Regions from separate parts of the Homo sapiens genome. Here regions 1 and 2 are each linked to region 3. Evidence: promoter capture Hi-C in 16 types of primary human blood cells and fetal thymus (Javierre and others, 2016). All regions are on one chromosome and are shown on one strand. Each heading gives the region's core, a stretch centred on a gene start or on the middle of the fragment in contact. The rest is flanking DNA. Distances are from core to core; before and after follow the strand shown. Region 1 overlaps ATG2A (autophagy related 2A). Region 2 holds the start of ATG2A (autophagy related 2A). Region 3 holds the start of ZNHIT2 (zinc finger HIT-type containing 2).

What was found. Contacts are between HindIII fragments. The CHiCAGO score rates a contact against its expected background, and 5 or more counts as called.
Region 1: a fragment that was not itself captured here is called in contact with the fragment with the promoter of ZNHIT2 in region 3 in 1 of 17 cell types (M0 macrophages); the score reaches 6.4 in M0 macrophages.
Region 2: the fragment with the promoter of ATG2A here is called in contact with the fragment with the promoter of ZNHIT2 in region 3 in 1 of 17 cell types (endothelial precursors); the score reaches 5.8 in endothelial precursors.

What each region holds. Positions count from the first base shown.
Region 1 is chr11:64,894,469-64,898,003 of GRCh38, reverse strand. It overlaps ATG2A (autophagy related 2A), which reads left to right. Exons shown (of 41, transcript NM_015104.3): 35 at 30-165; 36 at 261-333; 37 at 510-592; 38 at 1,135-1,256; 39 at 1,388-1,542; 40 at 2,562-2,714; 41 at 2,795-3,458. The coding sequence ends at 3,031. Among named protein-coding and RNA genes, the nearest start is that of MIR6750, 2.2 kb to the left of the region's middle. The HindIII fragment of the contact is 4,812 bases long and covers 1-3,535 here.
Region 2 is chr11:64,915,205-64,918,474 of GRCh38, reverse strand. It overlaps ATG2A (autophagy related 2A), which reads left to right and starts at 1,266. Exons shown (of 41, transcript NM_015104.3): 1 at 1,266-1,510. The coding sequence starts at 1,340. It also overlaps a transcript of PPP2R5B not described here. RefSeq lists an enhancer at 865-994 and a silencer at 1,045-1,354. The HindIII fragment of the contact is 25,686 bases long and covers 1-3,270 here.
Region 3 is chr11:65,115,652-65,119,268 of GRCh38, reverse strand. It overlaps ZNHIT2 (zinc finger HIT-type containing 2), which reads left to right and starts at 1,568. Exons shown (of 1, transcript NM_014205.4): 1 at 1,568-2,866. The coding sequence starts at 1,616. The coding sequence ends at 2,827. TM7SF2 (transmembrane 7 superfamily member 2) reads right to left here. Exons shown (of 10, transcript NM_003273.6): 10 at 3,039-3,376. The coding sequence ends at 3,216. RefSeq lists enhancers at 1,318-1,612, 1,605-2,148, 2,695-3,239, 3,240-3,617. The HindIII fragment of the contact is 3,565 bases long and covers 1,499-3,617 here.

The sequences.
Region 1 (3,535 bases), core at 325-2,824, 220 kb after region 3:
TCCCCAGTCTGTGACCTCCCCTCCCCTAGCTCGCCCCGAGACTCGAGCCCAGCCCAGCAGCCCCCTGGAAGGGCAGGCCGAAGGCGTAGAGACCACTGGTTCGCAGGAGGCCCCAGGAGGTGGACACAGCCCCTCCCCTCCTGACCAGCAGCCCATCTACTTCAGGTAGGCTGCTGGACTGCGGGTGGGGGGCCCTGGGCCAGATTGCTGGGGGCCAGGCCAGTGAGCAAAGAACCCCCTCTTCCTGCTCCCCTACCCAGAGAGTTCCGCTTCACGTCTGAGGTCCCCATCTGGCTGGATTACCATGGCAAGCACGTCACGATGGACCAGGTGGTAAGTGGGGCGGTCGGATGGGGTGGCCATGTGGGGTCAGCTGTGGCTGAGTCCCTCTGGGGGCCAGGTCTTGCATCCAGGCACTGTTAGCAGCCAGGGCGCTCTCCAGTGGCTCCCATGGGCTAGCTAGCTCCCTGAGTCCCATTGGGTAAACCTGGACCCCCTCCCTCTCCCAGGGCACTTTTGCTGGCCTCCTCATCGGCCTGGCCCAACTCAACTGCTCCGAGCTGAAGCTAAAGCGGCTCTGTTGCAGGCACGGGTGAGTCCCCAGCACCCCAGCCTCTCTCCAGGGTCCCTGATCTTCCTTCTGTTCTGGTCCTGACTGGTTGTGTGGCCTTGGCCAAGTCATCACCCTTCTCAGGGCCTCAGTTTCTCCTCTGTAAAAAGGACGCAGTTGGCTGGGCATGATGGCTCACACATTCAGGCATTCGAGACCAGCCTGACCAACATGGTGAAACCCCCCCGTCTCTACTAAAAATACAAAAATTAGCCAGGCGTGGTGGCATACACATGTAATCCCAGCTACTCAGGAGGCTGAGGCAGGAGAACTGCTTGAACCTGGGAGGCGGTTGCAGTGAGCCAAGATCGCACCACTTCACTCCAGCCTGGGCAACGGAGCAAGACTCCATCTAAAAAAAAAAAAAAAGGACACAGTCCCTCTGCACATGACTGGGTGGGACCACAGGGAGGGTAGAGTGCCCACAGTACTTGCCACAGGGGTACTGAGTCCTCCTGACCCCACAATCCCTCCATGTGTGGCTCTGCCTCACCTTCTGCCTCCTCACCTCCCTGCCCTGCCAGGCTCCTGGGTGTGGACAAGGTGCTGGGCTATGCCCTCAACGAGTGGCTGCAGGACATCCGCAAGAACCAGCTGCCCGGCCTGCTGGGAGGCGTGGGCCCCATGCACTCGGTTGTCCAGCTCTGTGAGTGTCTAGGTTTGGAAGCCCTCGAAACTGCTTTTACCCTTGGGCAACCTAGAAGCTGCCATTGGGAATAAGAGGAGGAGGTGGGGGCAGGGCAGCCTCGGGTGTCTCTGAGCGCTCCTTCCCCCTAGTCCAAGGGTTCCGGGACCTGCTGTGGCTGCCCATTGAGCAGTACAGGAAGGATGGCCGCCTCATGCGGGGGCTGCAGCGAGGGGCTGCCTCCTTTGGCTCATCCACAGCCTCTGCCGCCCTGGAACTCAGCAACCGGTTGGTACAGGCTATCCAGGTGAGTGGGTGCCCTGTATCTGGGCTGTGCAGGACAGAGCAGCTGGAGCCCTCTGCACCACAGCTCCCTGGTTCTGTCCTCAAAGCTCCTCAGAGTGGGCAGTCTGGGTATGACAGCCCTACTTTATAGAGAAACAGCCACGGAGAGGCTAAGTGACTTGCCTGGGACCTCCAAGCCAGGTCTCCCGAGGCCCACAGGGGCTCCCATGCAGGAGCGGGAGTGCCCCCCAGGCCTTCAGAGCCCACTGTGTCTCCTGCTCATGGCATGTCTTGTAAAGGGGGGTGGAGGACGGCTGTGTTTGCAGACTAAGAATCTGAGGCGCAGAGGCTGCCCTGGTTCATTCAGGCCATACGCTTCGCTAGGCCAGAAGGACCCCAGGGAAGCTGGGGAGCCAGTCTCGTGGGCAGTTGTCAGATGAATTCTGTAGGGGATCGATGGTCCTAGGCGGCTAAGGGGTGAGTGCAGGTGCATGGTGCATTCTGGAACCTGCAAGCTCAGACCCCAACAGGACAGAGGGCAGGGCTCCAGGGGAGGTGGGAGGGATGCATGGGCACCAGGGAGCCCCCGGGAGTGTTCAGTCAGGTGGGAAAGAGTGATGCCAGGTGAGATGCTGGGCAGAGGATCTGGCAGACAGAAGGAAGGATGGGCCTCTGACCATCTGGCAGGGGCGTCTGGGGGGCCAGGCAAGGAGCGGTCAGTCTCAGGCGTGCAGCTGCGGCAGCCATGTGGAACCTGCTGAATGTGGTGGTCAGCAGGAAGAGAGGTTTGGGTTGAGAAGACTTTAGGAAAGTCCCCTGAGGAGTCCCACGTTCCTAGGTTCCCTCAGCAGAGTGGCAGGTGCCTAGGAAGGGGAGGAAGAGTGGGAGGAAGTGGGGAGTGAGGCTGAGCAGGACCCCCTAGGCCAGCACAGTGACAGGCAGGGAGGCTGAGGGCTGGTGGGGTCTCAGACTGTCCTGGGGGCCTGGGGCTGACGTGTGCCCCAGCCAGCTGTCCTCATCCAGTGCTCCCATGTCCCCCAGGCCACAGCTGAGACCGTGTATGACATCCTGTCCCCGGCAGCCCCCGTCTCCCGCTCCCTGCAGGATAAGCGCTCTGCGCGGAGGCTGCGCAGGGGCCAGCAGCCTGCCGACCTGCGGGAGGGTGTGGCCAAGGCCTACGACACAGTGCGAGAGGTGACCAGGCCCCCGCCCTGCCCCAGTCCCCCATGCCCATCTCCTCACACAGACCCCGCCCTGACCTCTGGCTTCCACAGGGCATCTTGGATACAGCTCAGACCATCTGTGACGTGGCATCGCGGGGCCATGAGCAGAAGGGGCTGACGGGCGCCGTGGGGGGCGTGATCCGCCAGCTGCCCCCGACTGTGGTGAAGCCGCTCATCCTGGCCACGGAGGCCACGTCCAGCCTGCTCGGGGGCATGCGCAACCAGATTGTCCCCGACGCCCACAAGGACCACGCCCTCAAGTGGCGCTCGGACAGTGCCCAAGACTGAGCCTGGGGTGCCCGGCACCCAGAGGGTGCTGCCCACCATGCTCCTGAGCCTCCCAAGAGCTGCAGCCCACGGGCCCGGCCCGGCCTGGCCCTTCAGGGGATGGCCACTGTGAAGGACGCCTTCCCAGCCTGCCCGTTGCCAATCTGCTGTGAGAGGGGGGCCTCCCTGCCTTGGGGCCTTAGCCCTGGCTCTGCACTTTTCCTCCGGGGAGAAAGGACACTGCCCCTCCCCCGACCTGGGCCCACACTGCTGCCTTCTCCCAGGACGGAGGCTTTTGGACCCTCGGACCCCATCCCACTCAGCCAAGTGTCTTTCTGTGTCTGGGGGGAGGAGGGGATGATATCCGTGTGGTTCGATGTATTATTTTTAAGCTCCGTGAGTGCGTGGGTCAGTGTCTGCATGAAGTGGAATAAACTGCCCACCGCCAGCCCCCCTCTCAGATCCTCTGTCCCTGTGAACCCTGGCCTCAGCCTTGACCTTGGCCCCGCCCCAGATCCCACCTCT
Region 2 (3,270 bases), core at 17-2,516, 200 kb after region 3:
AAGGCAGCAGAATCATTTGAACCCAGGAGGCAGAGGTTGCAGTGAGCCAAGATTGTGCCACTGCACTCCAGCCTAGGTGACAGAGAGAGTCTGTCTCAAAAAGAAAAGAAAAGAAACATAATTACCTATGGCTGTTCCTGAAGTCGCCCATGATGTAAGAGGTTTTGTGTGGCTGCCCCCTACAGAGCAGCGGTTGGCAAACTTTTTCTGTGAAGGGCCAGAAAATAAATATTTTAGGCTTTGCAGGCCTCTGTCTCAAGTACTGAATTCTGCTCTTGTAGCAAGAAAGCAGCCCGGGGCAGAACTTAAGCAAATGAGCAAGACTGTGTGACACTAAAACGTTATGTATAAACACTGGAATGTGAATTTCATATGATTTTTCACATGCCATGAAAAGTTCATTCTTCTTTTGATTTTTCCCCTAACCATTTAAAAGACATAAAAACCATACTTAGCTCAAAGGCCGTACAAAAACAATGCCCCCCTGCTTAAAGGAGGCAGAATCCATTCTTTGATTTTAGGACTAGAGATATGAAAAGCTATTATTATTTCAGAGAGGTGCCTAAGGCCTGACCGACGGCAGAGAGAAGGGAGGGTCAGTTAATCTCCCTCTGAGCATTCCGGGGTGAGGAGGGGAAAAAAGACCTTCCTTGGTGATGGATTCAGAGCCCTTATTTATTTTTGTTTGTTTTTGAGGCAGGGTCTTTCTCGTATCTTAATCTGTTTTCTTACCTGTAAAGCGGTGGCAATAATCCCTACCTTGAGCGATTATTAAGAGGGCTCAATGAGATAAAGGATGGTAAAAGATTTTGCAAAATGCGAATGTTTACTCACTTAATTGTTTCCACAGATGCGCGCTTAAGATCGCGCACTGAGTTTACTCCTCTGGGGAAGGCTTCTACGAAGTTTGATGGGACACTGTCCCTTTAAATCCTCCCCAACCACTTAAAGTGGTTGGACGAATCAGCACATGCGCATTCCTTTGAGGGGCCGGCACCTGGAGCAACAGCCTTCCCAGAGCCTGTAGAGGGGAGGTTAAAGGTCCTCCCACACAGTACTTTACGCAAGCGTAAATCATGATTGAGAGCCCTATATCATGCAGAGAGCCCAGTCCCTTTTTCGCGCCCGAAGGCTCCGCCCCGCGCAGCCAATCAGTAGGCCTCGCCCTTTGCAATAGCCAATGACAGTGAGCGTAGGGGGCGTGGCTGGGCGTCCGGAGGCGCGGCCTGGCGCCTAGAGAAGCGGCGGGGCGAGCCGGGGGCTCTAGTGAACAGCGGAGCCGGACGGGGATCGCCGGCGGGCGGCAAGCGGAGGCGGCCCAGGCCCGGCGGTCTCCGAGATGTCACGATGGCTGTGGCCATGGTCAAACTGTGTGAAAGAGCGGGTCTGCCGCTACTTGCTGCACCACTACTTAGGTCACTTCTTCCAAGAGCACCTCAGCCTGGACCAGCTCAGCCTCGATCTGTACAAGGGCAGCGTTGCCCTGCGAGACATCCACCTGGAAATCTGGGTGAGGAGCCAGGCCCGAGTCCAGGAAGGTGCGGAGGGTGGGAGCGCAGCGACCTGAGGCTCCCTGCGGCAGGATCGGGCTGGGGGATCAGGCACCGGGCGTAGAGAGGCCAGGGGAATCTTGCCCTCTCCAGGCGTCAGAGGCACCCCGGCTGGCCTCTTCAGTTCCTTACCAGAGCCAGAAACTGAGCGGGAAGGGGTTTCTGTCTCCACGGGAGGAGAAACTGAGGCTGGAGAGGGCAAGATCACCTGTCTGGAGAATGCAAGACAAACTCGTCGAGTTTGGGGGCTGAGTTAAGGAGGTTGGCTCTCGGGCTGAGGAGGGGCTGGGGAGGGAGCGTAGGAACTGAGCTGGGCCAGGGCAGTGACAGACTTGGGCCTGCGCAGCTGGTGGGGGAAGCTGGTAGGGGTCCGGAGCCCTGGCGAGGACACCTGTGGATCATGTGCCCTGACCTCTTGACCCCACGGTCCTGAGCCCGTAGGTGGGATCAACAAACCACCGGATGTGTATGTCAACAACCGCGTCAGTACGTCAGTACCAGTGTTGATCAACACCTCGTGTGCCTGGGTCGCTGCCTACTTCCTGCTTTTGGGAGAGTGGGATGGGCCAAGTGGGTGTCTAGGGAGGGACTGGATGGCCCCCACCTACATCTCCCACCGACCCCCCCGGCTCAGTGTCCCTGCCTGGAGGGAGGCCCTGGAGGAAAGGTGGGGAGATCTGGCTTCAAGCCGGGAGGAGGCCAAGGGAGATGCTAGGGAGGCCAAGAGGTGTAAGGTCAGAGGCTTGAGGCTGGGAACGGTGAGGAGCCCTGACTCACAGCTCAGCTGACCTGGGGAGCTTTGAAGGAGCCACCAATTAGAGGCGCGTCCTGGTCGATCCACCAGGTCCAGAGCAGCAGGGGTGGGCATGGAGGCAGGGACTTCTCAGTTTTGTGGCTGGACTCAGGGGGCTGCTAATCTGGGCAGAAGAGCTAGGCTTTGGGGGTAGGCCAGGCCCTGGTGAGCAAATGTGGGGTAGGATAATCGTGGGCCCTGAACTGGGGGCACCCCCCAGTGGCCTGCTGTCTGTGAATTCTGGTGTAGGAAGCCCTCTCTGACCTCTAACCTTAGCCTCAGCCTCTAAGGCCGTCTCTAGGCTGCCCCTTTTTTATTTTTATAGAGACAGGATTTCGCTATGTTGCCCAGGCTAGCCTTGAACCCCTGAAGGGATCCTCCCACCTCAGCCTCCCAAAGTGCTGAGATTATAGGCATGAACCACCATACCCAGCCCTAGGCTTCCCCTTTTTACTTTCAGCTCCAGAAAACGCCCCTACTCCTGTTCCCTGCCCTCTTGTTGGGGATTGAATTGGCTTCTCTAGGGCCCTGGTGGAATGCAGGCGCTTTCTTGATAACCAGCCCCTCCTCCCTCCCAGCTCAGCCTGCAGGCCCCGCCTTGAAGGCCCCCAAAGAAACTGAGTATCTGGGGCCTCTGAAGTGGCATGAAAAGAAAGAGGCCCGCATCCCAGTCTCAGTCCCTGTTGTATACTGGGTGACTAGATTAGTCCTGTCTCTAGGCCTCAGTTTCCCGAGCTGTGGGTCTCTGGGTGAGGAATTTGGACTCCCATCTGCTCTGCCATGTGCTTTTTTATTCTTGGATCCAACCAGTTTACTGAGGCCCTTTCTGGGTGGCACCTGGGGTGACGGGGGAGGCAGGTGGGGTACAGCCCTCCAGGAGCTTCCAGGTTGGCAGGGGTACAACTCCAGCATGGACATTTTAGCCAG
Region 3 (3,617 bases), core at 319-2,818:
TCCTGGGCCCAGGTGATCCTACTCAGCCTCCAAAGTAGCTGAGGACTACAGGCATGCACCGCCACACCTGGCTAATTTTTTGTACTTTTTTGTAGAGACAGGGTTTTGCTATGTTGCCCAGGCTGGTCTTGAACTGGGCTCAAGTGATCCGCCCACCTTGGCCTCCCAAAGTGCTGAGATTACAGGTGTCAGCCGCTGTGCCCAGCCGAGAGGTCCTGTTTAAATGACGTGAGTGAGACCTGAGATGAACCAGTCAAGTGATCAGGTAGGGGAATATTTCAAGCCTAGAGGACTGTGTGAAGATGGGGAAGAGGTGATGTCTAGGGCTGGGGGCGGGCAGATCCTGCAAGGCCTTGTCAGCCATAGAGAGGAGTTTGGGTTTGAGTCCAAGTGCAATGGAGGGTCGCAGAAGGGTTTTGAGTAACAGATGGATCTCATCTGACTTGTGATCTAATTTCTCTGGCAGGTTTTTCTGGAGGGCTGGCAAGAAAGTTAGGAAAAACACTTAATGTGTTGTCATCCACATGAGGGGTCAGGAAGCTTAGACCACCAGTAGTAGCAGGGATGCAAAGAACACTCACAGTTTGGTTCATCACACCCCCCACTCCACCACAAGAGTGAGCTCTATTAGAACAGGGACCCCCGGCTCCCTTTGATGTGCATTGTGTTCTTGGCACCTAGAATGGGGCCTGCACTTAATAAGATGGATGAATAGTGGTATTTAATGAGAAGATACTTAATGAAAAGAAGAGGCAGTTTTGGAGGAAAAAAATCATAGGAGCTCAGATATTTCTTAAATGCTGCTTTCTATTTATCTTTTTGAGGTGGAGTTTCTCTCTGTGGCCCAGGCTCGCAGGCTGGAGAGCGGTGGCGCGATCTCGGCTAACTGCAGCCTCCACCTCCCGGGTTCAAGCGATTCCCCTGCCTCAGCCTCAGGAGTAGCTGGGACTACAAGCACCCGTCCCCCACGCCCGGCTAATTTTGTATTCTTAGTAGAGACGGGGTTTCTCCATGTTGGTCAGGCTGGTCTCAAACTCCTGACCTCAGGTCATCTGCCCGCCTCGGCCTCCCAAAATGCTGGGATTACCGGCGTGACCCACCGTACCTGGCCCTAACTGTCCTTTTATTTGTCTGTGTCCCCTAGTGCATTTTATTTGTCTGTGTCCAGCGCAGGGATGCATCGCCTCCCGTAGGCTTGGCACAATTAGTGGCCCAGAGTAGGTGCCTAGTAAAGATGGATTTATGCCACAGCACATTGTAGTGCTAAAAAGAGGGTTTTCTCTTTAGATGATCGGGCCACGTTTTGGTGTGACCACTAGGGGGAGACGTGGCACCGGCGAAGCGCTCGCCAGACCCATTTTTTCGCTCCTTGCGTCATCGCATAGGGCGGGGCTCGTACCTGACGCCCGGCTTCTGGGCCTGCTCTCGCCCTACTAGGGAAAGGGGTGGGGCTTGGCTTTCGGGCGTGGGCGGAAATTGCCGAGAATCCTCGGAAGCTTTGCGAAAACACAGCGCGCCGTCGGCCGCGCTGCGAACCGGAAGTAATCGAAGAAGCCCCGGAAGTTTCGAACTACCACCGGCGTGCGTTCGCAGGTAGATCGCGGTGCCAGTTGCCATGGAGCCGGCCGGGCCCTGTGGCTTCTGCCCGGCGGGGGAGGTCCAGCCAGCGCGTTACACCTGCCCTCGCTGTAATGCGCCCTACTGCTCGCTGCGCTGCTACCGGACGCATGGCACCTGCGCAGAAAACTTCTACCGTGACCAGGTGCTGGGAGAGCTCCGCGGTTGCAGCGCTCCTCCCAGCCGCCTAGCAAGCGCCCTACGCCGGCTGCGTCAGCAACGCGAGACCGAGGACGAGCCTGGGGAAGCAGGCCTCAGCTCCGGCCCGGCGCCCGGCGGCCTATCGGGACTCTGGGAGCGGCTGGCGCCGGGCGAAAAAGCTGCCTTCGAGCGGCTGCTGAGCCGCGGTGAGGCCGGGCGGCTGCTGCCTCCATGGCGGCCGTGGTGGTGGAACCGCGGAGCCGGACCGCAGCTTCTGGAGGAGCTGGATAATGCCCCGGGTAGTGACGCCGCGGAGCTGGAGCTCGCCCCTGCGAGGACCCCGCCGGATTCTGTGAAAGATGCCTCCGCCGCGGAGCCCGCGGCCGCCGAGCGGGTTCTTGGAGATGTCCCGGGGGCCTGCACGCCCGTCGTACCCACCCGCATCCCCGCGATAGTCAGCCTGAGCCGCGGCCCAGTCTCGCCGCTCGTGCGCTTCCAGCTGCCCAATGTGCTGTTCGCCTACGCGCATACTCTCGCCCTGTATCACGGCGGTGACGACGCGCTGCTCTCTGACTTCTGTGCCACACTGCTCGGCGTTTCCGGAGCCCTGGGTGCCCAGCAAGTCTTCGCCTCTGCGGAAGAAGCCCTGCAGGCGGCAGCCCACGTGCTGGAAGCAGGCGAGCACCCGCCGGGGCCCCTGGGCACACGAGGGGCTATGCACGAGGTCGCCCGCATCCTGCTGGGCGAGGGCCCGACCAACCAGAAAGGCTACACGCTGGCAGCACTGGGGGACCTGGCACAGACCCTGGGCCGTGCCCGGAAACAGGCCGTGGCTAGAGAAGAGCGAGATCATCTTTACCGGGCCCGGAAAAAGTGCCAGTTCCTCCTGGCCTGGACCAACGAAAATGAGGCGGCCCTCACACCCCTGGCCCTAGACTGCGCCAGGGCTCACCAAGCCCATGCTGTGGTAGCCGAGGAGGTGGCCGCCCTCACTGGGGAGCTGGAGCGGCTTTGGGGAGGCCCCGTGCCACCTGCCCCAAGAACTCTCATTGAGGAGCTCCCTAGCTGAACGGGTTACCCTGGTCATTAATAAAGCTGTGACTGGTCAGCCCTGTTGCTTGTTTCTGAGGGATAGCTATTGTCCCACCAGACCCCAGATTCCTGGGCCCACAAGCCACTGCTCAGCTTCTCCCTGATCAGTGCTGACCCAGCCAGTCCTAGGGGAGAGAAGTGCACCAAGGGTTCCCAGTGTTTATCCAAAGGAGGAAGAGCATCTCCGATTTTGGTCACTGGTTTCATTTTTTTCCTTGCTCTAAACCACCTCTTCTCTGAGGTTGTTCATCCTCAGGGCTGGGTGGGGTGCAAGCCCTTGAGTCCCAAGTGTGTCGAGGCTCCTGGTCCTGGGTGTGCTGGTGGATGAGTGGGCACATGCCCCCACCTGGGGTGGTGGAGCCGCTTCAGTAGATGTAGGGCATGATGCGGTAAGGCACACGCCGGCAGTACTCCTGCCAGGCCAGGCCGTACTTCTGCAGGCACTGCCGCTCATCCCGGGCCTCACGGTGCACCAGCAGCGCGGTGAAGTAGAGGAGGTAGAAGTAGGGCAGCAGGTGTGACACCCCTGTAGAGAAGGAGGCTCTGTGACCACCCTGCCGGCCCCTCCACCCCGCAGTTCACAAACGTTTCCACACCTCATGGCTCATGTGGGCATCGGGGCTCAGCAGCAAAAGCGCCAGGGTCTGCAGCAAAGCACACGGTACTAGGTTGGCACAGAGGTGTGCCCCAGCCACACACTGGGTCCACCCCCAGCTCTCTGACTACTCTCACTGGTGCATACCCAAAGTAGGCATCCTGTGGTCGCT